Linked DNA regions of Homo sapiens: regions 1, 2, 3, 4, 5 and 6 are each linked to region 7. Evidence: promoter capture Hi-C in 16 types of primary human blood cells and fetal thymus (Javierre and others, 2016). All regions are on one chromosome and are shown on one strand. The core of a region is centred on a gene start or on the middle of the fragment in contact, and the rest is flanking DNA. Distances in the headings are between cores, read along the strand shown. Region 1 has its middle 100 kb from the start of MIR4675. Region 2 has its middle 200 kb from the start of MIR4675. Region 3 overlaps NEBL (nebulette). Region 4 has its middle 62 kb from the start of MIR4675. Region 5 has its middle 67 kb from the start of MIR4675. Region 6 has its middle 150 kb from the start of MIR4675. Region 7 holds the start of PLXDC2 (plexin domain containing 2).

Evidence for each region. Contacts are between HindIII fragments. The CHiCAGO score rates a contact against its expected background, and 5 or more counts as called.
Region 1: a contact is called between a fragment that was not itself captured here and the fragment with the promoter of PLXDC2 in region 7, in 1 of 17 cell types (neutrophils). The highest score is 5.7, in neutrophils.
Region 2: a contact is called between a fragment that was not itself captured here and the fragment with the promoter of PLXDC2 in region 7, in 1 of 17 cell types (neutrophils). The highest score is 7.3, in neutrophils.
Region 3: a fragment that was not itself captured here is called in contact with the fragment with the promoter of PLXDC2 in region 7 in 1 of 17 cell types (megakaryocytes); the score reaches 5.1 in megakaryocytes.
Region 4: a contact is called between a fragment that was not itself captured here and the fragment with the promoter of PLXDC2 in region 7, in 1 of 17 cell types (neutrophils). The highest score is 5.0, in neutrophils.
Region 5: a contact is called between a fragment that was not itself captured here and the fragment with the promoter of PLXDC2 in region 7, in 1 of 17 cell types (neutrophils). The highest score is 5.1, in neutrophils.
Region 6: a fragment that was not itself captured here is called in contact with the fragment with the promoter of PLXDC2 in region 7 in 1 of 17 cell types (neutrophils); the score reaches 8.5 in neutrophils.

The regions. Positions count from the first base shown.
Region 1 is chr10:20,447,953-20,451,390 of GRCh38, forward strand. No RefSeq gene overlaps it. Among named protein-coding and RNA genes, the nearest start is that of MIR4675, 100 kb to the right of the region's middle. The HindIII fragment of the contact is 5,687 bases long and covers 1-3,438 here.
Region 2 is chr10:20,351,291-20,354,666 of GRCh38, forward strand. No RefSeq gene overlaps it. Among named protein-coding and RNA genes, the nearest start is that of MIR4675, 200 kb to the right of the region's middle. The HindIII fragment of the contact is 5,565 bases long and covers 1-3,376 here.
Region 3 is chr10:20,777,784-20,781,326 of GRCh38, forward strand. NEBL (nebulette) reads right to left here. Exons shown (of 28, transcript NM_006393.3): 28 at 2,190-3,543. Among named protein-coding and RNA genes, the nearest start is that of NEBL, 120 kb to the right of the region's middle. The HindIII fragment of the contact is 5,709 bases long and covers 1-3,543 here.
Region 4 is chr10:20,612,383-20,615,631 of GRCh38, forward strand. No RefSeq gene overlaps it. Among named protein-coding and RNA genes, the nearest start is that of MIR4675, 62 kb to the left of the region's middle. The HindIII fragment of the contact is 2,352 bases long and covers 211-2,562 here.
Region 5 is chr10:20,483,193-20,486,598 of GRCh38, forward strand. No RefSeq gene overlaps it. Among named protein-coding and RNA genes, the nearest start is that of MIR4675, 67 kb to the right of the region's middle. The HindIII fragment of the contact is 3,197 bases long and covers 29-3,225 here.
Region 6 is chr10:20,404,281-20,407,678 of GRCh38, forward strand. No RefSeq gene overlaps it. Among named protein-coding and RNA genes, the nearest start is that of MIR4675, 150 kb to the right of the region's middle. The HindIII fragment of the contact is 4,109 bases long and covers 1-3,398 here.
Region 7 is chr10:19,814,854-19,818,494 of GRCh38, forward strand. PLXDC2 (plexin domain containing 2) reads left to right here and starts at 1,579. Exons shown (of 14, transcript NM_032812.9): 1 at 1,579-2,338. The coding sequence starts at 2,227. LOC124902388 (a long non-coding RNA gene) reads right to left here and starts at 1,375. Exons shown (of 2, transcript XR_007062078.1): 1 at 1-1,375. RefSeq lists an enhancer at 503-1,268. The HindIII fragment of the contact is 8,470 bases long and covers 1-2,628 here.

The DNA.
Region 1 (3,438 bases), core at 211-2,710, 630 kb after region 7:
TGGTGGCGGTGGTGACTGTTCCTATTAGAGCCAACAAGAGGGTTTGGTGGGTCATTTTGGCTACTTGTTAATTCAGAAAACAGAGGTTTTTCTCCAGCAGATGAAGAAAGGGTGGTTGATGTTTTAAGTAATGTGTGGACACAATTAGGATGAAAGAAGGAAGAGCCCACTGTGTCAGCACAGCCTCGGGAGGGATCCAGGTTACATAGATATGAAGCCAGGCTTAAGTGGGTGGTCAAGCCAGGCTTATTGAAAACAGACTTAATCCTTTGCACATTTTAATGAATAATTGGAATTCTTAGTTGATAAACTTAATAAACTCATGGATGAAAAATAATACCACTTTTGGAGGCTGGGGAGAAGATATCACCAAATCCTTTGACTTTAAAATGACTGAGGGCAAAATGGGGAAGTTTTATCACTGAAAGAATTCCCCAACCATTGGAAGTGATTTTATTTTTAATGCATAGAATCAGGGCCTTCCTTCCCAAGTAATTACCTAAATAGATATAAATGTGTTTCAAAATTGTCCCATTTTCCAGACACCATTATTCTGAGCATGCTTTTGATGTCCTGAAGCCCAGAGTACAATTATCTTTGATAGTGGGGACAGTTTTTCAGATAGGTTTCCTTTGAACAAGAGAAGGACTTTTCCCTAGGTTTCCATTTCAAGAAAATTAAATTGAATTGGATTTTCAGGTACCATTAATTGATGTAAGAGAGAGAACAGAAACCTAATGATTTGGCTCAAGGCCTTAAAAAAAAAAAAAAAAAAGGAAAGAAAAATAAAAAAAGAAAAGGAAAAAGACTTTAGTGAGAATAGCCTCCAGGCCCAAAATGTCAGATTTCTTGCTGGTTCTGCAGCTATACCTCCAGTTAAAAAAACAAAAGGAAACTATAGGGTTGATCATTTCCTTGGAGACTGCATATTTTTAGCTGCAGTTTCTATATTCCATTTTTCAGAAGTGCCAGAGATAGATTATTTATAGCAAGTGGATTTAAGAGTTAGAAATATTGAACAACCTAGACGAAACTTTTAAGTACGTATCATTTTTTCCAGTCTACATTTCAGTACCTGGTATTTCTAATGATTACATGGAGAAATTTCCATTCGACACTATTTTGAGCCTCTTAGGCTAACCGGATAGCTTAAAGGCTCTTAAAGAGCACAACAAATGTATTTGGTCAACAATGAGATTTTCTATACTGAAAAAATGGGTATGTTGTTCATTTTATTTTTAAAAGTGTGCATTAAGATGCATATGTGTATTTAGAAAAATTTTTATAATCTAGTAAGAACTTTTGTCTGGAGGGATATTGTACACTGGCCTGGAAGTCCAATAATGAAGAGAAGAAGAGATAATGGTAGAACCAACTGGTAAGCGTGGATTCTCAGCAGGAGGTGACACTGCTCCCACGGGGGTAAACATTCATTCTTAGGGGTCAAGAAAATCCTCAGGTATTACAGTGGTTTATTTCCCTTTTCAGTAAGCAGAATAATGCTTTTCCAGGGTCTCACCCTCCCAAAGAAGTCCATTCTCTACTCCCTAGAACCTGTGACCTCATTATGGTAGCTGAGAAAAAGGAATTAAGGTTGTAGGTGCAATTAAGGTTGCTAATGAACTGACCTGGAAAGGAGAGAGGAGATTAGCCTGGATTACCAGGTGATACAGTTTCACCATGTCTTCACCCAAACCTCATCTTGAATTGTAGCTCCCATAATTCCCATGTGTTGTGTGAGGGACCCAGTGGGAGATAATTGAATCATGGCGGCAGTTTCCCCCATACTGTTCCTGTGGTAGTGAATAAGTCTCAGGAGATCTGATGATTTTATAGCGGGGGTTTCTCTTTTGCTTGGCTCTCATTCTCTTGTCTGCTGCCATGTAAGACGTGCCTTTTACCTTTCACCATGATTGTGAGGCCTCTCCAGCCACTTGAACTGTGAGTTCATTATACCTCTTTTTCTTTATAAATTATCCAGTCTCAGGTATGTCTTTATCAACAGCCGAAAATGGACTAATTCACCAGGTGTGCCCAATGTAACCACAAAAGTCCTTAAAAGTGGAAGACAAAGATGGACTAAAAAGGCACAGAGAGATCCCACATTTGCTTTGAGGGTGGAGGAGGGCCATCACAAGCAAAGTTATATGGGTGGCCCCAGAAGCTGGACACACATTTGCCTCTAGACTTCCAGAAAGAAATGCAACCCTGGTGATCCCCCCACTCCAGCACAATGAGACCCGTGTCAGACAGATATCCCTGTACAACTGTAAGATGACACATGTGTGTTGTTGCTGCTAAGTTTGTAGGAATTTATTATAGCAGAAATAGCGGGACAATTAATATACCTTCCCAAAGGTCATAGAATACAAACATAGTGTAGCTGTAGTATTAAAAAGTCGTTGGTGGCCAATTAGGAAAAATGTGTCTAAAAAGGCTCCTTGGGGGGCAATAATGAAAACAAATTGAGTAATATTGCTCTAGAAGATGACAAGCAGGCTATTTGACTGCAGAATTTCATAAAATGGAGGCATTTTATGGCATTAGTGTTTGGATGAGTAAATTTTACAGCACCAAAAGCTGTTGCTTTAATCTGGAGCAGATCAGAAAATTAGCAAAAATAGAGTTATTCTTAAAAGTGAATAACTAAGAAAGTATTCCACGGGCAAAAGACTTAGGAAACTCTAATAGAAACAATATAGTTGGTAAGAAATGAAACCTACAAATCGCAGCTATAGAAGAACACTTCTCTAATTACATGTATATAGTTGCCTGGAAGAAAAAGTTTGAAGGTTGATAGGTCAGATGCTAATAGTGAGTTCTCTGGATGGTCATTCTATTTCTGTTTATTGTTGTTGTTATTATTGTTGCTGTGGTTTGTTTGTTGTGACTTTCCTAAAGGAAATATATATATAATAGGAGGCTTTTACTATATGCCAATAGTTGGTAACTGGATGGGAACCAAAATTTCATAATAAACAGTTTTCTCAAAATCCAGTTTGGGTTGAGTCTTAATCTTAAAAAGAAGAACTGGAATTATAAAATAAGTTTATTTCATTTTATGTATTGTTATTACTAAATTTCTGTTACAGATGTAGCTATGTTGTTAGAGCTATGTCTTTAGAGAGTAGAGAATTGAGAACATTAAAGTAGTGGCAATTTTGGTCTTTTTTTTTCTCAAATTTATATAATTACTTGATTATATACTTCATGTTTGATTTCTGCAGCATAGAGAGGGTCATATTGGAAGGTTGCATTAGATTTCCCAGGGGTTTTGCCTAATCCTTGAATAATCTAATTATTCCCTTTCGAAGTAGCTATTGTGTAGTCGTCATTGTGTATTTTTTCCCCTTAGTTTAATTGGTGAATGGTGCCAACTTCTCATGTGTCCGTGATTTGGCTTGTAATTGAAACAGTGTACCAACCTTCCTTTCCATC
Region 2 (3,376 bases), core at 701-3,200, 540 kb after region 7:
TCTTGCATGAATGCTCTCTTCTGTGTTTAGACGTTCTCTATCACTCTTGCTGTGAAATTGAAGTATGTGTAGAAAAAAACACGTTTTATGATATAAAACTTTGCAACACTTGTGAAAACAATTCAATTTAGTTTATGTGCAGTATGATATTTCTCCAAGTATCATCCAAAATTTCCCGCACACAATTTTGTCCCAATTAGGTGTTGGTCTCCGCCTAACCATCTGAGACTGTTCTGTAAAATTGCTGCCAGAATTTTACATCCAATTGCCTCTACTTTCTAGCACACATTCTTTACTGTTACTGAAACCAATTTCTACTTTATACAGAATTTTTTGCCACTGTAATTAAAATTTTTCTTCCATGAGTCAAGTCCTCTTATGAAAATGATTTCAGCTACTCATTTTGTGTATGCCTCTTTTAACGTTATTGGTCCCTGTATCGGTAGTACTTTAATTCATTTATTCTTTCACCATGATGTATTCCCCAAACCTACCAAATAAAGCAATACACTTAAAAAAAATTGCACTAACAAAAGGATCACATTCACAATTAAAAAAAAAAAAAGGTACCTAGAAATAGACTTAACAAGAAACATGCAAGATCTCTGTTGAGGAATGTATAAAATATTTGTGAAGGACATAAAGAATCCAAATAAGTGAAAATGTATAACTTGCTCATGGTTTGGAGGAAATATGAGAAAAGTGTTCATTTTCCTCAAATTACACTGTAAGTTTCATGCAGTCTCAATCAAGATCTGAACAAGGTTTCTGTCAAACTTAAAATGTGCTTCTAAAATTTATACAGAAAACTTACTTACCAAGAATAGTTACTGCAGTTTTGAAGAATGAACAAAATTGGGGAATTTTAGCCAAAAAAAAATTAGTTTTCTGATTACCTAAAGAATTTGTATGACCCAATCAGAATAAAACATCCCAATAGGAAAACAAAAATAAGCAACTGATGCAAAGGAAACTAGCATAGCCAAAGCAGTTATGAAAGATTACATCAGGAAAACTCCAGTTAAAACAATAGACTATTATGTCCTATTCATCTTTTGGGAAAAATTTAAATATCTGACAAAACTATGTTGGTGAGAATTTGGAAAAACAGGAGCACCAATTCCTGGTGGTGGATGCATAAATGTATACAAATGCTTTGGAAACTGTATTAGTCCATTTTCATGCTGCTGATAAAGACATACCTGAGACTGGGTAATTAATAAAGAAAAAGAGGTTTAATAGGCTCACAGTTCCTCGTGGCTGGGGAGGCTTCACAATCATGGTAAAAGGTGAAAGGCATGTCTTACATGGCGGCAGGCAAAGAGGGAATGAGAACCAAGCAAAAGGGGTTTCCTCTTATAAAACCATCAGATCTTGTGAGATTTATTCACTACCATGGGAACAGTATGGGGGTAACCACCCCATGATTCAATTATCTCCCACGAGGTCCCTCCCATGACACATGGGAATTATGGGAGCTACAATTCAAGATGAGATTTGGGTAAGGGCACAGCCAAATCATATCAGAAATCATCTTGAACAATCTAATTGTTGCAAATGCTCTTGCTCAATGATCCAGGAATCCCACTTATAGGTGCAAATCCTGAAGAAACTGGCATTCAATGAGATTCATCCGCATTGTTTATATTAGTGAATAAATAGAAACAACCTAAATGTCCACCCACAGGAGAACAGATAAATAAATTGTGGCATAGTTATCTAATGCAACATTACATAACAGAAAAAAATGAATACATTGAATCTGTAAGTATGGCATGAGTAAATCTAAAAAATATAATGTTGGGAAGAGGATTAAAAAGCAAGTTGCAGAATATATAAATTTATCAAATTTACATAAAATTTAAAATGTTCCACCTAATTTCTATGCACTGCTTACATATATAAAAATATGTTTATCAATATAAAACCATGGATAAGAATGATAAACATGAGGTCCTCTTACTGGTTAACTGAGGAATAAGTGAATAACATGGATTCAAAAAGGATGGTGTGGCCGGGTGTGGTGGATCACATCTGTAATCACAGCACTTTGGGAGGCCAAGGCAGGTAGATCACCTGAGGTCAGGAGTTCAAGACCAGCCAGACCAACATGGTGAAACTCCATCTCTACTAAATACAAAAATTAGCCAGGCATGGTGGTGCATGCCTGTAATCCCAGCTGCTTGTGAGGCTGAGGCAGGAGAATTGCTTGATCCTGGGAGGCAGAGGTTGCAGGGAGCCGAGGTTGCAGTGAGCCGAGATTGCACACTGCACCCTAGCCTGGGAAACAAGAGTGAAACTCGGTCTCAAAAAAAAAAAAAAAAAAATCGAAAACAAAAAAAGGACAGTGATGAAGGCCTCAACCATGTTTGAAACCTTGTTTCTGTGTTTAAAGTGTCTTACAAAAATGGAGCACTGAGTTTAGATTTGAAAGAATTTTTCAATATACTTTATAGGTTATTTTCTGGATGTTTGATATACTTCACAATAAAAATTGAAATAATTTTGTTTCCCACTTTTCCACTTAATCGTACATTGTAATTTTTTTGTATAACACAGTAATCTTAATACAACTCTTAAATTTTCGCTAGTGTTTCATTGGCTGAATACTAAACCTTTCTCCCTTAGTTGGACAACTTTCAACTTTCCAGTTGGTTTCAATTTTTCAATATGATAAAACTTCAATCAAATCTTTTCAAAAAGGGCATTTTTCAGTTTTTAAACAACTGAATATGAAATGGAGCACTTGAAAAGAGATGAACATGGCAATTGAGAAGAAAAGTTAAGATAAAAACTTTTCTTCTTAGTTGAAAGTTTAAAATCACAAATCAACTACTGGAAATAATTTGCAGACATATCCAAAGAAAAGGTAAATAAAGAACATTTAATTATCCTACAAGGAAGCATCTAATTTTACAAAGACATATTAGAGACAAACCACAGCTACATGCAAGTCACTGAATCACAACACAAGATTTCATGTTGTTCATATTCAAAGGCTATTTTTTCAATTGTTTGTCAACCACAGTACTCAGCTTTTCCATTGTGCATATGCCAACAGTCTCTTCCTAAGTAAAACTGGGCATATGGAACATTTCAGCTCTAAAGTTTGGCCTTTCAAGTTATTCAAATATAAAAATAGCCAAAGAATGAAGTTAAAATGGGGGAAAAAAAGTATTTTCCGTTCATGCATTGCTTTCAATTATATGTTCCAGAAAAAAAATTACCTTCAGGCTGAGAAAAAGCATGAAAAATTTCAACCTCAAATCTAAATATCAATACTTGTGAAAGTAAAATGCAGAGAAATGTGGTTAGGGCTAACAATTACCCATGATCTCGTCTATTTATTTCCTAGTCGTCTTATCTGCCTTTACTC
Region 3 (3,543 bases), core at 932-3,431, 960 kb after region 7:
GCCCAGGAGTTCAAGAACAGCTCTGGCAACATAGTGAGACCCCATCTCTACAAAAAATAAAAAAAGATTAGCTAGGCACAGTGGTGTGTGCTTGTAGTCCCAGCCACTCAGGAGCCTGGGAGATCAAGGCTGTAGTGAGCCATAATTGCATCACTGCACTCCAGCTTGGGCAACAGAGCGATACACTGTCCCAAAAATGTATAAGTAAATAATAACCCTATAATTTGTGCCAATGGATGTATATGGCCGCTTTGTTAGTCTAAGTCTCGGATTGCTTATAAGCCATAGAAAGCCTTTCAAAGGCACCTCCAGGAAACCTTATGTACAAGTGTGGAAAGGAACGTAGGATTTGGCCTTGTTGGGGGCCCTAAGGGCACACAGGACAGCAGAGGAGGTGGCCTCCTGGGTGGGCGAGCTTTGCATGCCTGGGATGGAGAGTGGGTACTCCTTGGGAAGCAGGAGCTGATGTTCCCTCGTAAGGGGACCACCATTAACAAGAACCTGTTTCTCCCGTGGCCCTGTGACTCCTCCACTGCCAGCCACCTACTTTACTCTGTCTATGCTAAGTATCTTTTCCCCCATTTCATGAGTTCTTTTACTTATACTTTCTGCTTACTCACAGCTTAGGCTTCCTCCTGACTTCTTTCTCTACGTTTTTTAACCATACAACCTGAGAGCCAACTTGCTTTCCCTCTTGAACTCAGGCCTCTTCAGGGGGATCTGAGCAGGTTCAGCCACCACCATCCCTGTTAGGCAAAGTCCTTGTGTAGCCCTGCAGAGTCACCTCATTCCAATCAGCTGGGACCAGGGAAGTGAGAGCATGTAGGACAGAGCATGGTTATCCACAAAAATTAATGAAAAAGTTAGCTGGGGCCACATAGCCTTGGACAGTAGCCCTCTGGAAAAAAAGGCAAGAAGTGTGACTGTCTTGTGTTAAGAATCAGAAACTAGTTCCCTTCAAGAGTGATCTTATGACTCAATTTGGGATGCAGAAAAGTTTCCTCTTTCCTCAGGTAGAATAACAGGAGTTTAGATGTTGTCCATTTCTCTATTTTAGTTTACTATTCCCTTTCATGTTTGCTGCTCAAAACAGAAAAGGAACTGGGGGGTGGGGGGCAGGGGAAGCTACAAAGATTAAAATGCCACAACGTAAACACAAAATCAGCAACTAGACTCTTGGTTCTAATATTGACTTTTCACCTTTTGAATCCATTTTCTCATTCTGCTTTTTTTTGTCAGAACTCTGCAGCTGCCAAATACAAATATAATAGACAAAGGCCTGAGAATTTTGCTTAGAATGACAGAAAGGAGCTAAAGTTCACAACTGGACCATATCCAGTTTTCTGCCACAACAAAACTCATATTCAATCCCTCTGTGTAGGAGAAGCATATATTAGCCCATTTTCACACTACAATAAAGAGCTGCCTGAGATTGGGTAATTAAGAAGGAAAGAGATTTAATTGACTCACGGTTCAGAATGGCTGGGGAGGCCTCAGGAAACTTACAATCATGGCGGAAGGCGAAGGGAAAGCAAGGCGCTTTCTTCACAACGTGGCAGAAAGGAGAATAAACAGAGGAGGAACTACCAAACACTTAGTAAACCATGAGATCTCGTGAGAACTCACTATCACGAGCACAGCATAGGGGAAACCGACCCTGTGATTCAATTACCTCCACCTGGTCTCTCCTTTGACACGTGTGGATTATGGAGATTATAGGGATTACAATTCAAGATGAGATTTTGGGTGGGAACACAGCCAAACCATATCAAAGCAGATTATATGAAGAAAAAAAAAAATCCCCTTTTACCTACTTTTTAGTTTATTATATATTTTTGTAGAAACTTATTTTGGTAGAAAAGTTGTTTGGTGCGCATGTCATAGTTACCCGTAAAACCTCACAAATGTTTAAGAAAATAAAATTATAAGCACAGTCTGTTTAAAAGCTAAATTATTTTTTGTCAGAAAAAAAAAAATCTAAGGTATTCATTTCCTCTGTGGCCTGGGTTACAAAGAGTAAATTTATAATCGAATGGAAAAAAAAAAAGTCTCAGAGGGAAAAAAGGTAGTGAATTCTTCAAATAAATAACTGTGCTGTCTTGTGATTTCAAATACAGTGTGCTTGATTCATAATACTATTAAAATATTCATTTCATACTTACGGAATATGAAAAACAGAAAATCCAATATTTGGAAGAAGTGTTTATTCTACGAGCAGATGTCATCCGCAAAGTTTATCAATTTACAATTAGGAAGGATTATGAGCCAAAGAGAAAGTTTTACAAAATAATACAATAAGACTAGCATCCAAATCGCATAGATTTATATGAGTGTGAAAAATAGGGACTCACTTTTTCAATTATGGGAAGCGTAGTGGGGGGAGAAAAGCAATTGTGTTCTGTGATAAATGAGCCTTTCTTAGCTGAGAAATCAGTTGCTTCCCATTTTATGTACTCAATTTGTGCACTTTCTATTCTATGCTCCAAACCATTTCTTTCATCTTATGAATAGAAGAAAATTAGAATTGTACTATTGAGGACATATGAGGAATTTATTCTTGAAATAAATTAACTACAATGATGCATTGTTGCGGTACTTTGATATAAAATCAGAAAGATACTGAGCTTGGAGAAGCATAATATTGTTATCACTTACAACTAAGTTTATTTGGGGGAGGAAAATATCTTGACTGATTCACCAATGTAAATGCACTGAAGGCAGCACACACCTCTGATGCGATTTGATGTGAGTTGTCATGTTAAATCTCAGACCCGGGGTATTATTAGGGTGCATTGCTTGCATCTAACAACCCATGCTCCAAGAAACCACGGTGAGAGCCAAGAAGTGAACCATTTTTTTTATATCCTGCATTTATTTAAGCAAACCAAATGTGTAGAGATAGGAAATTAATGTGTTATAATGTTTTACAAATACAGAGAGAAAACACAGAATATTAAGACCCTGAAGAGAGTGCATTTGAGAACGCAGTTCTATCATAGGAGACCACTTGCAGGGAACACATTAAAGCCATTGCTGACACAGCCATCTGTCATTCCTGGTTTGCCGTCATTTAAGTAGTTTCAATAGATAAATCGGTGATTTGCTTTTAAACAAATATTAATGTTAATGATTAGGGTAGCCTTGAAGGGTTTGTGAGTGACTGTACTATACAATGTGATGCTAGGCTTAATGTGTCATTTCAATGCTGTTGTACATTATGCAGGGGAAATAATGTCTTATTACACATTAACTGCGACATCCACTAAAATGTGAACTAGTTTGCATAGGTTAGTCCTTTGGGCAGCACGATGTTGCTCTAGTCCACCAAGGCTTAAAGATTCACAGTGTAGAGGAAAAAAATATGAATTAAAGCATTTCTACTAAAATATATTTTAATAGCTGGTGTTAACAATTTGCATAACAAAAGCCAAATTATATTAGTAACATTGTAACATTCCGTGAAGCCCCTTCATTTGCAAAACATTCAATGTTTTCTTCAAAACTGTTACACTCTCAAAGTTAGTCTCGCAAATTAATCATCAA
Region 4 (3,249 bases), core at 137-2,636, 800 kb after region 7:
CAAGTATCATCTTCATTAGTTTAGTTAGATTACTATACAGTATTTACCTTATTATAGTTAGGTCAATGCTGGGTCACATATTAATCTATAATAACTTTTCCTTTTTATGAGCAATATTTTGGTTTTACTTGAAGTTAATCATCACACTTGTGTTTGCTTAGTTGTGCAAATGTCTGTCACTAACTTTGCAAACTTTTCCTCCAGTGTCTAAGCTTCACACATGAGCTAATTTTATTGATTGCATCTTTATTTCATCTCTGGTGACATCTGACCTGTTCTAGTCTGGACAGGTTTCTTCCCAGTCCCCAGCTGGCTCTTTCTTAACCACCAACTTGGGTTTGGATTTCCTATAACTGGATCCTGTGTCTTTATTGCTAGTTTAGTTCATAGTTTTGGTGGAGCATATTCTCAAGACCATCCATGTGTGGAGAACTAATTTGACAAAGACTTGATGTGAACATGTCTCTATTTTCTAATGTAAATCATTTTCCCTTGGGATATCAAAAGTTTACTGCATTGACTTCTTCCCTCTAGTATTGTTTTTGAGGCATCTAAAGCCAATCTGATTCCTGATCCTTCAGAAGAACCTCCTGCTGCTTTGGGGAGAAGGAGGTTCCTCTACCTGGTAGCTTTTGGGTACTCCTCTTTGCCCCCATGGCTGAAATTCACAATGAAGTGCTTGGTGTGGTTTTATTTTTATAGGTTATGCTGTACACTCAATAGGTCCTTATATAGGAAAAAAACAAAAAATAAATAACAAAAAAAACAACAACACTGTTTTCTTCTTGATACGTCACTTTCAATGCATCTGACAAGAGACAGGGGAGGAGTGTTACCACACCAAGCAATTCTCCACTTCTTGGCAGACACCAACTGGGTGCCCCCCAGTTCAATTCAACTCTGACACTAACAGAATCAATGTAGGCCCCAAAGTTTAAAGGTTCAGTCCCACAAGACTGCCCCACACTTTGCAGGCCAGTTGCAAACAGTAGGTTCCCAGATTACCCACAACTTCTGTCCTACTTGGCTACAAACCAGAGTTTCCCACACCCAACTCTGTGGGTTTGACAATTTGCTAGAGTGGCTTATAGAACTCAGAAAAGCACTTTGCTGTTATCAGTTTATTATAAAAAGATACAGCTCAGTAACAGCCAGATGAAGAGATGCCTAAGTTAAGATATGAGGGAAGGGGCACGCAGGCTCCATGCCCTCCATGGGTGAGCCACCCTTCCAGGACCCCCACACGTTGAGAAATCTGGAAGCTCCCCAAACACAGTCTTCTTGGGGTTTTATGGAGGCTCCATTTAGCAGGCAGGATTGATTAAATCATTGGCTGTTTGTGATGTTCATCTCCAGCCCTCTCTCCACTGGTGGAAGGTTGAAGGGTGTGGCTGGATGTTCCAACCCTCTAATCATTTGCTTAGTTCCTCTGACAAGCAGCCTCGTCCAGTGCCTGTCCAGGAGTCTCCAGCCACCAGTCATCTCATTAGCATACTAAAAGATGCTTATCATGTCAGAGGTTCCAAGGGTTTTAGGAGCTACATGCCATAAAATCAAATATTTAGTGGAAGACTAATATGGTTTGGCTATGTCCCCACCAAAATTTCATCTTGAATTGTAGCTCCCATAATTCCCACGTGTCATGGGAGAGACCAGGTGGGAGGTAATTTAATCATGGGGGCAGGTCTTTCCCATGCTGTTCTCATGATAGCGAATAAGTCCCATGAGATCTGATGGTTTTATAAATGGGAGCTCTTCTGCACAAACTCTCGTCTGCCACCATGTAAGATGTCACTTTGCTCTTCCTTCATCTTCTACCATGATTGTGAGGCCTCCCCAGCCATGTGGAATTGTGAATCCATTAATCTTCTTTCCTTTATAAATTACCCAATCTCAAGTATGTCTGTATTAGCAGCATGAGAACAGACTAATACAAAGACCAAAATATATATTTCTTATTATATCACAGTAGCACAGCCCTCTTAATGTACAAACTCATTTTCTACAATTCTGGCTAATTTCTTGAATTTTTTTTCTCTAATAATTTCTTTTCTCTCTTCTTTTTCCTGTTATTCAGATGGATGTACCTGCTTCTTGAGCTGAATTCTCACCAATCCCTCATTTCTGGTCATTCTTAACCTTACTCCCAGATGTGTTTGGTCTACTGCAGCCTTCGGATCCCTACTAGAGTTTGCCTTAGGAATCAGCTTTCTCAGACCTGTGTCTGAGATAAAATGTCTGGGATAAAATGTCATTTATCCTGCTTCCTGGATTCTGAAATTTGATGATTCTGTTCTCCTCTTTCATCTCTTCTTTCTTAAACCCTTTTTTTTAAAAAAAAATCCTGTAACTGTCATTTACTGGAACTTCAGAGAGAAGCAGAGGTTAATACCTATGTTCAATGGATACAGGAGATAAAAAGAAATTATTTAGGCAGTTAATGAGGGTAAGAGAGTTCTTGGCAAGGCTTCCCTTTTAACACAAGCAACCCGCCAAATCATTTCTTTTCTAACAAAGAGCAGCCGGTAAAATCAAGCCACAGACACAGATAAGCAAGCTAGAAGCTTTCACAGGTAAATGTGGCAACTGTGCCAATAGAAACACACTACCTAAGGGCCAGGTATGTTCAACATGGAGGTTCCCTCTTCCCTTTTGTGGCTACATAAGTGGTAAAAAAGCATGGAGCCAGCCAGGTAGAGGCCTCATCTGCATAATAAAAGATTAGGGTGAGATGTCCAGCTTCTTCACGCCCTATGCAAACAGCACACCTGGTCTGACTAATCTCTTGATCCCTATGTAAATGAGACACCGCCTCCTCAAGCTCCTCTATGAAATCCCTTGCATTTCAGTAGGAAACCAGAAGACCCACTTGGGAGCCCCATGCTCTCTCTGCAGGAAAGAGAGCTTTTCTTGTCTCTTTTCTCTCGCCTATTAAACCTCAGCTCTTCAACTCACTTCTTGTGTGTCTGTGTCCTTGATTTCCTTAGTGTGAGACAACGAACCTCAGATATTTACCACAGACAACGTAGCCACTTCACAATCTTGCAAATTTTCACCAAGTCCTTTTCATTATTATGTAAGGAGTTGGAACTGACTGATGAGGGTTTGATTGTGATTGCCTCTAGCTCTCCCTGATAGCATTTGGATGAGCTGGACAGATGTAGGATTAACAAAGGTCTGTAGGGTGGAGCAAATATGTCTCATTACCAAGGGTAAAATTTCAAGTGAAGAGGCTCCCATACTAGAGCA
Region 5 (3,406 bases), core at 377-2,876, 670 kb after region 7:
AAAGAAAGCAATACATAGTTCAGCCAAAAGCTTTGAATGGCATGATTAATAAGCCTAGAAAACATAAAGTAGTGGAGTTAGCTTGGCTAAGCTGAGAAATGTGGAGATAACAGGAGAAAAACACTGAAAAGCATTAACCCAGAGTGGTCAACCTAGTTCACTGCACTCTTTTTCTTACGGATGGGTACATCTTGCCTCTGGGAAGTATCATAATCCATTATAAGCACATAAGTATAACAAGTAACTAAATAATGTCACTTAGTTTTGGTTGATTGCAAACATCTCCCTGTTACAGTGGACTTTTGAATTAGAGATGGTAGCTCAAAATGTGCTCATTCCGTGGTGTATTAAAAGTATCTACCAGTTTCCTGAAACTGGGAAACCTGGATTCTAGTTCAACCTCTGCCCTTAACTCCCTGTGTGACTTAAGCCAAGTTATAAAATGTCTTCACTTCAGTATTCTCATGCTTAAAATCAAGAATCTAAATTAGCTGTTATCAAACTTAAGGGTTGTTAAACATGTGAAATGCTTAGAACATTAAACACAATGAAAACAATAGGTTTTATGTATTTCCAACACTGAAATGTATGATTCTATTGTTCAGAGTGCACACTTAGCATGCACCTACCCTTAGCATTTCAGATTGTTCTAATAGGATTACCTCTTATTAGAGGTGTTTGTGACCCTCTTTTCCCTTTGGAATGAGACTGGCTTTGGGATTCCTCAAGTGGGCATGAGGCACAAGAAATCTATTCTGTCTGCAACCACGCCTGAGACACACTGTAGGGTAAGTGAGGAAAATTGAGCGCCTTCCCAGGGGGAGCCAAACATCTCTGAGACTCAATAGTGTGTTCAGCAGTTTTCTAGGAAAATGCCATCCTAATACCTCACTGTACCTCCCATTCTTATTACTCCATCATTCTGGAGTTAAAACTAAGCCACCTGAAATCTTAGATAGTCCTTCCTTTTTCTTGAATCCATTGTTTTTGTATACCCTTGACCTAAGTGACTCCATTTTAGAAAAATACTCCATCTTACATTTTAAAAGGCATCAAGCCATCGGGTCCAGGTGCTCACCTAATCAATAGAGACAACACCCAACCAGATAGTGGTGTAACCATTTACTACCAGTCCTTGTCAGAGGGCTCAAGGGCCATAAAATGAGCAGGACTTCACCAGCTACACATGGCCGTCTTGACTGACCCTGTCTTGCTGCCACTGGTGATCAGTACCCAGCATCTGCCATCCAAGGTTCTGACCAAATCAAAGACGTTTCCTTGCAAGATATTAACATCCATCTGGACCAAGCCAGGACACTCTCCTTGTCCGTGTGACTCTCCTTAGACTGGTTCATTAACCCCTTTTTCCTATTCCCTTTTCTTTTGATGTTAAATGTTAGTTTGTTTGATGTGGAATGTTTGATCTATTTTACTTATGTATTGGTTAAGTATACTATTACCTACACTTTGTAATACTGACTGACCTGTGGAGTGGCTTGAGCATGTATACGCACAGCCCTGGCTACCGAGTGTATGGCTAATACTAAGGAGAAGTGCCTCCTTGGGAGCTCAATGTAGCTCACGGGTTTTATAATTAAAATAGCATCAATACAAGTCTTACCTTGTGGAAAGACACAAATGTGCATGGACCTGGTTATGTCTGAACTTGTGCCACTCGTGGAAGTTTTAAATCTACATATTATGTTATTTCACAACCAAGATTTTATTTGGAAAGAAAACGCAGATCATTAGGGAAGCCTGATGGATTAACTTGAGCTGAAAGGAAGTCAGCCGAAAGACTTCCTTCTTCCTAATGATGCTCAAATTCAGGGTTTGTTTTTATATAAACTTAGTGTCCTTCCTGTAAAGAGATCCTTGTGCTCTCCCCACCTAGGAGAAGTGGGGATCTATACAGGAGGGGAGTCAAAGGGGGTCTTGGGTGAGTGATCAGTATCTATGAAAAATTTTAAAATCCAATTTAATTTTGGCAGCTTAATTATTCCTGAGGTCTGAGCATTTTTGACAACCTGCTGAAATATGTCAAACACAAGTGACAGAGCTGGAGATAAGACTGAGTTGAGACTTTTAACTACAAAATGATGGGACAGTGAGGGCAGAGGAGTTTTCCCATAAGAATTAAGATATAGAAGAGGAACTCTGGACTTTTATCCCTAATGAGGGCATTTTAGACTGTAAGTGCAAATAGAAGCCTTCTCTCCTGAACTGGACATTGTTTCAATTGCTAATAAAAAGATTCCGCTAGCTGAATTTCAGGACTGTGAAGCAAAGTGGGACAGTGGCGGGGAGACTAAAGAAAGCCAGGGAAATGAACCCCTTCTCAAGCAATGAGGCTTTATAAATGCTGAAGAAGCACTTAAAACTCGACAGTCTGCAAAGGAATATCACTTTCCAAACCTCTTAAAGGTTTGCTTAGGGTACTTTTCTGCTATAAGAGAAAATATTTCCTTCCCAGTGATCGAATGGGAGACCCAGACTGACTGGCTTAGCCTACTAATCTCTGCTCAGCACTGGGCAAAATGACCGACTAAATTAGAAGCACTTGAGGATTTCATCAGTAAATGAAATGCTGTGTCAGGGATTAATGATCTATTTTGTTTTCTGACTTGGAGCAGCAAAGCAGTCCCACCCTTAATATAAATAAAATTATTAGTGGAGGTTAGAACTCAATGAAACTTGCCAGGTTTTAAGCATGTGGAATGTTGAAAATTGCACATCCTCTTTAACTTAATAGCATTTATTGGTTTTATTTTTCTTCTAAAAGTGTATATATGTATCTTTTTGTGGAAATATCGGAAAATGCAACTGTGCACAGAGAATCTAAAAAAATGACTCAGTACCTCAATATACAATGGGGTTTTGGGTGAATCTAATCTGTTATTAAGATATAAGACTCGTTCCAATTTATTCATTCCTTCTACCACCACCAAAATCACTCACCACCATCTGTTTGCAGAGCCATTATAGTGATTATTTAATCTGATCAGTGTGGATAATGACTAAAAGATTAGAGGCCTATCACTCTTAAGCCTGATCCACTGCTATTTGATAAAATATCAACTGTTTATGAAAAACAAGATCTCAACCAATCATCAAGCATGGAAGTGAATCAAGATAAATTTTAACAGAATGTTTTAGTCTCTTCTTTGTCTTTGTACCAGGCAGAAGCAGCCAGAAAAAGAAACAAGTTTTTATTGTATTAGATCAAGCTTCCCCAACCCGCGGCCCATGGCTGCATGTGGCCCAGGATGGCTTTGAATGCGGCCCAAAATAAATTTGCAAACTTTCTTAAAACATGAGATTTATGCTCTGACCTATTTTTTTTAGCTCATCAGCTATTGTTAGTGAAAGTGTATTTTATGTGTGGCCCAAGACAATTCTTCTTCCA
Region 6 (3,398 bases), core at 760-3,259, 590 kb after region 7:
TGGATGTGTGTCCCCTCCAAAATTCACATTGAAGCGTAATCCCCATTATGTTGATGTTAAGAGATGGGGCCTTTGGGTAGCAATTAAGTCGGGAGTTTTCCACCTTCACAATGGATCAGTGCCTCATACAAGGACTGGGGGAGCTAGTATAGGAGCTAGCTTTTTGCTCTTGTATCTTGTCGGGTGAGGATACCTAGACAGCACCATTTATGAGGAACAGGCCATTGCCAGACACTGAAGCTGTAGGCACCTTGATTTTGGACTTCTCAGCTTCCAGAACTGTGAGCAATAAATTCCTGTTGTTTATAAATGACCCAGTCTCGACTATTATGTTAGAGCAGCAGGGATAGACTAAGACAGTCACATGGTAACATACACATGTGTAGCACTGCAAACTTCATTACTTACATATCCTGCAGCTTTAACAATCCATACCTTTCTTCCTCGATAAGCTATAACTTCAAGGAGAGCAGAGAATGTCTTATTCACTTGCAGCATCCTCAGGCCTAGCACAATAACCAGTAAGTACATCACAGATCTAATGAAAATGTTGATCGGTATGAATAAACAGAGCGCAGTGTATTAGCCATTGAGGATGCCAGGATCTAGACACCATCTCAGGCAATTCAACATCTAGCTGGGGATGCAGGACATGTAAAAACAAATGCAAACAGTATCAGAATAAAATAAAGAATAATCAAATGTATCATAAATTCCAAAAAGCTATACTTTCAGTGAAATCTACAAGGTCTTAGAGGCATGAAGACAGTGGTTTGGGATGGCCAAGAAAGGTTTGTTTGTTTGTTTGTTTGTTTCAGAAAGGTGATAATCAGAGAAATGGAGCAACTTAGTGGAAAGGGTGCCCTCTTGGTCTTTTTGGCAAGGGAGATCATGGGTAGCAAAGTAACGAGCTGCATGCATAATGGATTTGAAGAACACATCTGTATATTTTCATTTTATTCTATGGGATACCTAGGGCAATAGGGAATTCTCTCTTTCTCTCTTCCTTCCCTTTTTCTCCTTTCCTTTCCTTTCCTTTCCTTTCCTTTCCTTTCCTTTCCTTTCCTTTCCTCTCCTCTCCTCCCTCACCTCCCTGCCCCCCTCCCCTCCTCTCCCCGCCCCCCTCCCCTCCCCTCCCCTCCCCTACCCTTCTTTCCTTTCCTTTCCTTTCCTTTCCTTTCCTTTCCTTTCCTTTCCTTTCCTTTCCTTTCCTTTCCTTTCTTTTCCTTTTAAAATTTTATAGCCGATGTAGTAAAAGCAACTTTTGGGAACACTCAGGATGACAATATGTATAGGTCAAAAATATGATGGGAAGGAATAGAATTTTGTGGTCATCCATGTGATAGAATAAGGAGGGCTGTAACCATGAGAAAGATGGAGCAATGACAGGACCAACCAGACCTGATGCCCAACTAGACGGAGAGGGGGAAGGAGTAGGGAGTGTCTTAGGGACTCCCAGCTTTGGAAGGGGGATGAAGAATGCTAGGCATACGTTAAAAGACAGAGAGAGAGAAAGCCAAGGAAGGGTGACTATGTTGAATTTGAAGGGACAGCAGCACAGCCCAGCTATAAGAAATCACTCACGGATGGGTTTGATCTTGAGGCTTTGTTTGTGGCATGCGGTGCTGAAGAATTTGGTTTGAAGGACAGCTGCATACAGATGTTTTGCTTCCCTGGGGAACTTACAGAAGAGAGTCTTTAGTTAGAGACAAAAAATATTCATGTACTGGCTTTGCTTATAAACCTAAAGGACAATAATAAAGAATATTAAATTCTCTCGTGGAGTCCCAAAAAGTGATACTGACCCTTTTGGTTCAAACTTTGCATACCCTATCAGTGACTTCCAATCTTCATAAAAATAAGAAATATTAGTATAGGTCAATATTTTGACATTTATTATTACTACTAATTTCAGATATTAAAGATGAAACATCAATGAGTAAACATGATTAATGTTTAAACCAAGCAGATCTTCACGGCTAATCTAATAATGCAATAAGTGCACAAGTTTCAGATCACCATTTTCTCTCAAAGAAAAGTATCTTACTAGATGTGAACTTTTGCAGCATGAACAGCCCTGAACAAAAGAAAAACTGGCTTGGCTTTTAGAATTGAAGATCTGAGTGTGCAGGAAGCAGGCCAAATTAGCTGCAAATAAAGTGTCTGCACTATAAAAACAGTTCTGCAGCTTTTTCCAATGGCACTGCCTTTGAGTCATCTAGGATGCACAGTGCTGTAGTTATTGGGTAGGTTTTTAGTTGGATGTCTTATAGATTGTTCAAGAAATTAACAGATAGTCTGCAATGACAGGGCCAGCTATGAAATTGCTCCAACTTTTATTGCTGAAATGTTGACCATTCTGTGAATGTGTCAGTGGCGGTGACAAGACTGCAGTTTGAAACCAGTCTGACGATCCCCACCTCATCAGGGGCCCATCTGACTTTAGCATATTGGCACTGAACACCGACGCCAGCCTCTGTCCAGCACAGGAAGCCCTCTTGACACTTGGCAGTAGGTGTTGGGAGCCATATTGAGAAAGCCAGGAGTCTGACCAGATGGTAGCTCTCCCTTGAACTTCTTTACAGATTTATTTTCTCTATGAAGCAGAGGGAATTGGCCAAGTCTGCCAAGCACATGGCCTTTTTCTGTACTTTCATCAGATGAGGAAGCCCTGGCTAGTCTTTTGGAGGCCGAAGACTTGGCAGGCTAGCAATCTTGGCAAAGCCACGCAGCTCACAGACTACCAGGGGGCCCTTCAGATCACAAAGCAATCCTTGAAGTTTGCAAAGTTCCTAGATGAGGGGTGTGGGGACAGGGCAGCAATGATCCATCACAGACACCTACAGGCATTCTGGAAATATAACCAGCTCTGCCAAGATAGAGGGTGAAATAGAATATATTTAACAAGTCTTTCCAATAGAAAACTCATTTTGCAAGTGTTTAAATGCATAAATGTTGAACGGGCATTATGGTAGTCCATCCAGGTATTGATTCCCACACATTTCCCAGAATGTGCTCAGACTCCGTAGGTTTTCATAGTGAGGTTAGCAACTTTTATTTTCATTTAATATTATTATTATTCCCATCTATTCTTTTAAGGAAAGGATAGCAAGAGCACTAAAGTGTCTTATGCTCCTACTCTTCAACCTCCAATTGACTTTATTTTGAAACAGCTTTATGGAGATGTAACTCATATATTGTGCAATTTGCACATTTAAAATGCACAATGATGGTTTTTGATACATTACATCATTATTCAATAAGACTTGTGGAATGTTATTTTCCATTTTTACTATTTTAAAATATACAATTCAGTGGCATTAATTATATTCACAGTGTTGTGCAACCATCACCACTATTTCCAAAGTTTCATCACTCTAAACAGAAACTCTGTAACC
Region 7 (3,641 bases), core at 329-2,828:
TGAGTATTGGATTAAGGGAAACCTTTCTTGTTTCCCATGAGAGAGCCGTCCTTTGAGCATCACATTTGCAAAGGTAGATTGATTATCCGGATCCACTTCCAGTGGGTTTTGTGGCAAGCCGAGACATCTATTGACAGCATCCATAGACTCTTCAGAGCTTGGAGTGGAAAGGACCTTGAACTTAGAACACATGCACATTTATTATGTGATTGAAGTCGTCTTCTCTCACTTTTGCTTCAGTAAACACTTAAACAAAGCCATGTACTTTGCGGTAGGCAATGTTCTATATTTATTAAATATACAGTTAACTCATCCAATCCATTGCAACCACCTTATAAGGGCGTTACTCTAATTCTCTCCATTTGATGGATGGATAACTGAGGCTAGGAGATAAACTGCTCATTGCGGGGGAGGTGAAATTCCAGCCCAGGCTGTCCGGGCTCTAGATCCTGTACTTTTAACCAATAGCGCTTTGCTTCTTTTCCTTGTATTTATCCCTTTCAAAAATGATTAACTGTATGCAAAATAAGATATCAACTAACGAGAGGGCCGGCAAGGGTTAACGCGGAAACAGATCCCCGAGCTGAAAAAACAAAAACAAACTGGGGAGCCAGAGCCCCTGAAAGCTCCGGTAGGAAATTCAATGGGCCTCCTGTTCCTTTAAACTCTCGCTTTCGCCCCCGCTGACACTTTGCAAAGCCGCGGCGGCAGCGGCGGGGACCACGCTGCGGTGCACCACCTTCCGCCACCCTCCCGCGCTGGGCTGGGGTCGAGGGGGCTTCGCAGAGTCGGTAACCGAACCGGCTCTGGTTTGCTTTCTCCACTCCCTAGCCACTACCAGAACCAGCCTCCGCGAAGGGGCGAGCTGTGGTTAACCCTTTCGTGCCCAGGGAGACCCCGCCAGGGTCGGGGCGGGGCGCGATCGCCCCCCGCAGTCGGGCGCGAAGGCGGCCCGGGAGCCAGGTGGGTGTGGGGCGCAGTTGGCGGAGCTGCCCAGGGCGTGCGAGCAGGCTGCGAGGATGGCGCCCCGGCGGCGCGGAGGTACCGCCCCGCGCTCCCCCGATAGCTCCCCGGCCTGTCCCCTCTCCCCGCGCTCTGGGGCAGCCGGCTGCCTGGGGCGCACGGGGCTGGAGTGGCCCTCTCCCTCCCCTTCGCTAGGCTCCCCCGGCTTAATCTGTTGGCCGCGACTCCTCAGCCAGCCCCGAGGAAAGTGCAGCCATTGGACAGGTCTGTGCGGGCTGCCGGTTTCAGGGAGGAAGGTGGGAGAAGCCTGGAGGAGCGAAGGGGAGGGCGGAGGGAGGAGGGAGGAGGGTGCGGCGGCAGATCTGGCAAATTGCGAGCTGCCTTCCCTCCTCAAAGTGTGGAGAAGGAGCGCGGGGGAGCGTGGCGACGGCAGCGCCTCCTCCGCCACCAAACTCCTGGGGCTCCGCGGGGGCTTGGGGCCACCTCCTCCTGAGCCCGGAGGAACCCTCTCCCGATAGGTTCCAGCGTGACTCCCTCCCACTCCACCCTTTTCCTTTCTTCTTCCTCTTTTTTTTTTTTTTTTTTAAACACATTTTTTTCCTGGCTTCGGACCTCAGACTGCTGCAGCCCTAACCTTCCCAGGGCTCAGCTCTTTGGAGCTGCCCATTCCTCCGGCTGCGAGAAAGGACGCGCGCCCTGCGTCGGGCGAAGAAAAGAAGCAAAACTTGTCGGGAGGGTTTCGTCATCAACCTCCTTCCCGCAAACCTAAACCTCCTGCCGGGGCCATCCCTAGACAGAGGAAAGTTCCTGCAGAGCCGACCAGCCCTAGTGGATCTGGGGCAGGCAGCGGCGCTGGCTGTGGAATTAGATCTGTTTTGAACCCAGTGGAGCGCATCGCTGGGGCTCGGAAGTCACCGTCCGCGGGCACCGGGTTGGCGCTGCCCGAGTGGAACCGACAGTTTGCGAGCCTCGGCTGCAAGTGGCCTCTCCTCCCCGCGGTTGTTGTTCAGTGTCGGGTGAGGGCTGCGAGTGTGGCAAGTTGCAAAGAGAGCCTCAGAGGTCCGAAGAGCGCTGCGCTCCTACTCGCGTTCGCTTCTTCCTCTTCTCGGTTCCCTACTGTGAAATCGCAGCGACATTTACAAAGGCCTCCGGGTCCTACCGAGACCGATCCGCAGCGTTTGGCCCGGTCGTGCCTATTGCATCGGGAGCCCCCGAGCACCGGCGAAGGACTGGCGGGTGGGGTAGGGAGGTGGCGGCGGCGGCATGGCGAGGTTCCCGAAGGCCGACCTGGCCGCTGCAGGAGTTATGTTACTTTGCCACTTCTTCACGGACCAGTTTCAGTTCGCCGATGGGAAACCCGGAGACCAAATCCTTGGTAAGTAAGATGCACTTTAGCTTGCTGATTTTGTGCGCAGCTGAAGACCTCTCTGGCACTCTCGTGCTCCCTACCCTCTCCCCCCAACATCACCTATCTGCCCTTGGGAAACTTATTGCAGTTGCTTTTCGGCTAAACTTAGGCTTCCCAAATGGGGAAAGAGGGTTATCAAGAGAAGGACGCCGGGGACTAGGGGTTTTCTTGAGGCTTTCGGGCTTACTTCACCTGGGCGGCAGGGGGTGGTACTGTCTCCCCAAAGTAGCCCAGGGAGGGCTTCAGTGTGAGAGCAAAGCTTCTTCCGTGGATACATCTCCTAGGACCTGGCATCTCCAGGCTGTGTGCTCTCCGGCTCCTCCTCCTTCCTCGCTGCTGGTTAAACTAAGCGTGTGTGGTATGGGGTGGGTGGGGGACGTTGTGAAAGCCAGGGATTGCAGGTCTCCCCTCTGCACGAGAAAATTCCCTGTGGCAGCACCTTCCTTCCCCTGGCGATCCCCACTAGCTCCGTCTAGTGACCTGGGCCAAGCGGGCGCTGGAAGGGGGGCGGGGTAAATGCGGCCGGCGCAGAGGTGGGGAGCAGGTGGGAAAGGTGGAGGCGGGCTCGCCTCTGGAGACCTACCCCTGCTCCCATTGTCCTCCGCCTGCCAGCTTCACAGACAGGCCTGAACGCGCAGAGAGTTCCTTGGAGTGCCCTGATTTTGTCCCCGAGAGGGCCCCCAACCTCCGCATCCTCTTAGTGGCTGTCCTGGCAGGTGCGCGTCCTGCGGGGAGTTGCGCCCCGGGGGCTATCGCCGAGCGGGAGCTGCCTCCTGGAACCCTGCCCACCGCGAACTGGGTGCCTACTCCCCATTTCTGCCTTTCAGTGAAGAAAGTGAAGACACAGGCAGAAAGAGATCTTGGCAGAAATTGGTGAACTAGGGTGGACTTCGAGAGGAGGTGAAACGAGAGAAAAAGAAAAAAGAAAAAACTTGGAGGGAAAAGAAAAGAAAACGAAAACTTTCTCCCTAGGATAATCAATTTGTCAATTTGTTCTTTTCTGGTGTGTGTGTGTGTGTGTGTGTGTGTGTGTGTGTGTGTGTGTGTGTAATTTAAATGATTGCCCGGAAAGTATGCATGCGTCCTCAACAGTCAACTAGAGAGTCACAGATGGAAGGTTGGGGGACACCTGGGGATTCCAGGCAAGGTGAATCTTGAAGATCTTGAAGGAAACCCTTGAGTGAAATTTACCAAGCCGCGACTTAGAAGACAGTCACAACACTTCGCCTGTCCCTGGTGTAAACTGTTCTAGATAAAGCACAGATACTGA